2 separate regions of the Homo sapiens genome follow, and region 2 is linked to region 1. The links are contacts of gene promoters, found by promoter capture Hi-C in human tissues and cell types (Jung and others, 2019). All regions are on one chromosome and are shown on one strand. Each heading gives the region's core, a stretch centred on a gene start or on the middle of the fragment in contact. The rest is flanking DNA. Distances are from core to core; before and after follow the strand shown.

Region 1 (2,768 bases), core at 81-2,580:
CTCACTTTCAGTAGAAAGAGCAAAACCACTAACATGTATAATGAATAGCAGCTCCTGGCCTAGGAAACTCACTAAGTCTTGGAATTCAGGAACCAGAGAGGAAACCCTGAAGCCTCTCAGGTGATCTGGATTGACACCAGACATCTGTGACTCTATCAAAGCTTTGTACAGAATTCAAGGCATGGACATAAAAGTGCTTTAAGTTGTAAGACATTAGCAGAATAAGATACGGGATTTCATGAACATTATTTAGCCATATAGACATTTTAAGATAATCAGTGTTAGTCCTAGCTGCAAATATGTTCCCTATTTTTTTTTAGCATTCCACAAAATTCTCATTCTTTTAATTATCTCCCTTTGCTGCTAGGACCTCCTTAAGGCTTTCATCTGGTTCACACTAGGCTGGGAAGAAAAGATGTAGAAGTTCTTGGCCTGGCCCTGGCCTTTTCTCCTTTATCCTTTGCTATTTCCTGTCTCCTGTTTCTCTACAGAAGTAAATCATGTTGACATATCCCCAAAGAGTACGGGCTGTAGTATGGAAGAAATATAGAAACAAGGGACAGCTGAGACAGATGCACATAAAGAGGAATATGACCCACTTTATATTTATGTATTTATTATGTTGTTAAACAAATAATGCTTTATTAATACAAGTACACACAAACTCCAAAGCACTAAGAAATTTAAATATCTATGTCATAGCAAACAGCTGGCAATTCAACATCCAGGGTCGACAGAATGCTTGAAGGAGACTGCAAACAGATTGCATTCCCATGGTGGAGAGGGCATTTTCACAGGTGAAGGGGGGCCCAGCTGAAACAGCTTTTCAAGCTCTCCCTCCTCATCAAGGATCATGAGAGGCACTCCACTCAAGGGGAGGTGTGCAATCTGGCGCTCTTCAGGCAGGTCAAAACTCTCAAAGTCTAGAAGATTGAAGGGAAAGAATTTTTCTATTTCTGGATAGGCGTCATCTGAGGCAGGAACAGAACTTTTTGTTTTAACAGTCTTCTCGGTCATCTTTTTGGCAGAAAAGCTTGGCTGTTTTTGTTTTCTGGGTCCATTGGTCTTTACTGACTTTTCTGTAGCTCTGTTGACAGTGCCCAAAGCCTTTCTGGTAGCTTTAGGTAAGGCTGATGGAGCATCGTATGTTTTGCCAAAACGTCGTGTTAAAACTTGAGATATCCCATCTAATGCTTTGATTGAAGGTCTAGACTCCAGCTTCAGCACATCCTTGGCAGCCACACGGGTGCCTGGTTCTCCAATTTCCTTATCAACGTAGATCAGAGTAGCCATTCTGGATTATTGCCGCTCTCAACAGCCACATTCATCTAAGACCGTGGTCCCACTTTATATTTAGATAGAATGTTAACTATAGTGGAAATTGGTGTAATATCTAATTTTTGTGCCTAGCACATCATCTGAGAGTTAGCATGAACTCATATAAAGAGCACAGGCCTGAGGTCAGACAAACCTGGGTAGGAATCTCGGGAGTACCACTTTCTGTTAGCTGTAAGATTTGGGCAAGTTAGCTAACATCCAAGCCCTATTTCCACATCCATAAAATGGAGGTAAAACCCAACTCTTACACATTGTTAAATGGTCAAAAACCACTTAGGTAAAGGGCAGAGCAACCAATAAATAAATAGTTTCTGCCGTTATTGCATTTTCTAATTTATAATGTACTTTTGCATACATTATTTCACTTCTTACTAACCTTTAATAAATGCAAGTCTTCCATTTTTTACTAAAGCAGCACCCCTGAAGTTTCTCTAAACTGCAAAATGCTCAAATGTTTCATCCCGAGTTATCCCTTTTGCCAACTCTGATCTACTGGTGGCAGACAATCCAGCATGCAGTGGTGGGGAGAGCCGAGAGGCCCTCTCTGAGCAACGTGACTACTAATGGTGCTTGCTTGGGCAGGAATACTGGACTATGGCAATGACTATATACCTTTGCCAACCCAACCCCAATCTAGTCCAGGCTATTGATTCACAGCAGCAAAGGGTCACTTCTGTTTCTAAGGCCTAGAGATAAGTTGAGGGCACTTTTGCAGTGAGCCATTTCAATTCAATGATAAATATTCTTGTTGTCTAATTCATTCTATGAATCTTTGACCCAGTGACATATGTGCGTACGTATTTGAGCCCATATGCAAAAATATACAGTTGAGTCTTGAACAATACAGGATTGAGTCGCATGGATCCACTTGTTCTCAGATTTTCTTCTGCGGCTGCCACCTCTGAGACTGCAAGACCAACCCCTCCTCTTCCTCCTCCTCCTCAGCCTATTCAACGTGAAGACAATGAGGGTGAAGACCTGTATGATGATCTATTTCTACTTAATGAATAATGCAATATGTTCTCTTCCTTATGATTTTTCTTAATAACATTTTCTTCAGCTTACTTTATTGTGAGAATACAGGATATAGTGCATAAAACATACGAAATATATGTTAGTCGACTGTGTTATTGGTGAGGTCAACGGAAGACTATCGGTTAAGCTTTTTGGGAGTCAAAGGTTATAGGTGGATTTTCGACTATGCAGGTGATTGGCGCCCCTAACCCTCACATTGTTCAAGGGTCAACTGTGCCTGTTTATTTGCATAAGGCCACCTCAAATACAAAGGGCCATTCAAAGGTATCATTAGAAGTCTTGCTCTTAACCTGACACAGCTAGCTAGAAAGTGACAGAGCCATGACTTGGACCTGGTATATCAACTGATTGATGTAACCTCTATATGGAGCTTGTAAATTCAAGTGCCACCCAGA
Region 2 (2,768 bases), core at 130-2,629, 160 kb after region 1:
GGAAGAAGAAGGAAGTATCTGTCCCCTTCAGCTCCCATACTAGTTGTGAATCTCCACCTCCCAACAGAATCTCATTACAGAAATTCTCCATAATTAGAAAAGGTATAATGAGGTGTGTCTGTTTCATCATGGCTGGGAAACCAGTTTCTCTGGAGTTTCCTTGGCCAAGAGGGGTACATTCAGTTGGTTGGGGTACTTAGAATTTTGTTTTTAATTTACAAGCCAAAATGAGGCTCTAAAGGAAGACTTGGGGCAATGAGGAAGAGAGTCCCTCTTTCTCTCTCTCCCTCCCTCTTTGGTAGTTGGGTCTCCTTTGTGGCTTCACCCCCTGCCCAATAGCCCGTCCCTCCTTCTGGGCATCTCCCACTAGAAAAGCCCCAGCTTTGGGACTCTGATGACACCACTTCATCCTAGTGACCTTCAATTCCTGGGGATGGTGCTGGCCTCCTGTATCTCTAATCTCTGGGTAGTCTTGCAGTTCCCTATTTGGCTTCTCAGTCCTTGTATAAATTCCTTTTATTAAATTTTCATTGTTTGAAAGACCTAGAGTGTTATCTGTTCTCCTGACTGACATGATATTGACAGCAAAAACTAAATATTGTGGAATCCACTTGATCTTCATCTCATTCTCTGGTCATCAGGTTGAGACAGAGCCTCCTGTCACCTGAGAACAATTGGGGAGTTATAATTGGAAGCAGTGTGAGTCTTGCTGTCTATCAAATCCTTTCTCTTTCCTTTTAGACACTCAGCTAGACTTGATTTCCCAATCATACAATGGATTCCTGTCTAATGGAATAAGGGTAGAATTTATGTCTGGAATTTCCACCCCTGAATCATAAAAATCTTCTTTCTCTCTCTCTTCTTTCTGCTGGCTGGACTTTAGCACTCAGGACAACATGGGAGGTACATGTTGAAGAGGTCAGAGCCTCTGTCTACCTGGGTCTTGAACTGTTGAGCTAGAGTGGACTCTTCCCACATGAACCACTACCAACTGGACTTGATATGAGTGAGAGATAAATGTTATGGTAAATCGCTGACATTTGGGGGTTTATCTGTTAATGCATCCTATGTTACCTTAGCTAACACATGATATGAGAATTTTTTTTTATTAGGGAGCATAGTGGTTAATAATGGAGATAGATGGGATTACAATCCCAGCTCTGCCACTTACTAGCTTTATGACTTTGAGCAAGTCACTAAATTCTCTCTAAGCCTCAGTTTCTTCTGCTATAAAATGGGAATAATACTATTATTCTGTGGTGGCATTGTAAGAAATTAGTAGACACACTTCTATACATAATATCTATATGCATAATTCCATACATAATTATCATATTAATACTATAGGTTTAGTTGAGAACTCAGTAACTGTTAGACATTTTTGTTACTACTCAACTAGGAGGTAGATTAGGTCTACTTTCACTGTATGCTATTTTAAGTAGGTAGTGTCTCATAACTGTAAGGTGCGTTAGTGTAAGTTAAGCAAAGTACTATTTTTAGATAAATGGAACATCATTATATAGTCAATCACATGGCCATTGAACTTTCTTCCTGGGGTTGTCATCAGATTTTTCCACTGCCATTGCTGGAAGATAACGTGATTGATTTCATGTTCTTAGAGAAACTTCAGCATGCAATTGAAAGGGTGAATAGGGACAGGACTTTATAGACCACAGCCTCACCTGACCCCCCCCCCCCCAGTTAGGACTGATTAATCCTTTCTTGCCCTCATTGTACACTTGACACTATAGGATATTTGCTTATTGCCCAGCTAACCTTGTTATGTCATCATACAGGAAATAAATGAAAGAAAGCTTAATGGAGGGGCCATGTAGAGGTCAAGGAGAACCAAGAGTGATAAAGCACTTCCAGGCTACACTGTGGGGGGCCACTGTCAGCCCTGGGCCTGGAAAAGCCAGGAACAGAAGAGCTGGTTGTAGTTCTGGAAGCAGGCTGCTTCTCAGCAGTTGTGGCTTTAGGGAAGTGCAGCCATTGTTAAGCCTTAGCAGGCATGAAGGAAGCCAGGGCAATGCTTCACTTTCCTCTTCTGCCGCCCTTCCTCTCCTGCTACCCTTCCTCTCCTCTTGTGCTTCCTAGTGGCTGAGCCCAACTGAAGCTGGAAGGCAAGGGAGCCCTGTTGATACTTTCCAGAAAAGTCAGCTTCCAGGAGCCACTGGGCAAGGTGGCGAAGGGCAGAGAATAGATCTAGAGGGGCAAAGAACATCCCACACCCAGCTCCTAAGGAACTGTGAGATTCTTACAAACAGAGTTCCTTTCTTAATGCTTTTTGTATCTTCAGCGTGCAGCAAAGAACACATAATGGATGTTAGTTGAATAAACGAATGAATGAACAAATAAATGGGGAGAACAAAAATGCTTGCACTTAAATTTTTTAAAAAATGTATAATGTCCACATATCCTTCATTTGCCCTGGAGACAGTGAAACTTCCTACTGGAAATGAGAGCTCTCACGGACTCCAGGTAGTCAGTGCTTTATGAGCCCATTGCATCCCAGGCCTCATCCATCCTTCATCACGCATTAGCAGTTGCTCTTCTCGGCTGGGGTCATTCCTTGCCAGGAGCTACCATGTCTTCCAGTGTAGATCAGCCTTTCCAGGCTATAGTGTTGTTTCTGAAGCTCTTCAAAAAGTCAAAGGGCCTCCACTGATGCCCGCTTGCCTGCCGCCCCTTATCCTAGACCTCCTTGACCTTTTCCTTGATAGCTGTTGAATTGCACTAAAACTTGCATTCCCACATTCAGGCTGATA

The links. The method cuts DNA at HindIII sites, captures the fragments that hold promoters and counts their contacts. A contact is called where the count stands out against the background at its distance.
Region 2: a contact is called between a fragment that was not itself captured here and the fragment with the promoter of PTTG2 in region 1, in 1 of the 25 tissues and cell types used here (spleen).

What each region holds. Positions count from the first base shown.
Region 1 is chr4:37,958,960-37,961,727 of GRCh38, reverse strand. It overlaps PTTG2 (pituitary tumor-transforming 2), which reads right to left and starts at 1,330. Exons shown (of 1, transcript NM_006607.3): 1 at 600-1,330. The coding sequence starts at 1,293. The coding sequence ends at 718. The region is part of intron 2 of TBC1D1 (TBC1 domain family member 1); the gene reads right to left. The HindIII fragment of the contact is 2,532 bases long and covers 598-2,768 here.
Region 2 is chr4:37,796,815-37,799,582 of GRCh38, reverse strand. No RefSeq gene overlaps it. Among named protein-coding and RNA genes, the nearest start is that of PGM2, 28 kb to the left of the region's middle. The HindIII fragment of the contact is 3,117 bases long and covers 1-2,768 here.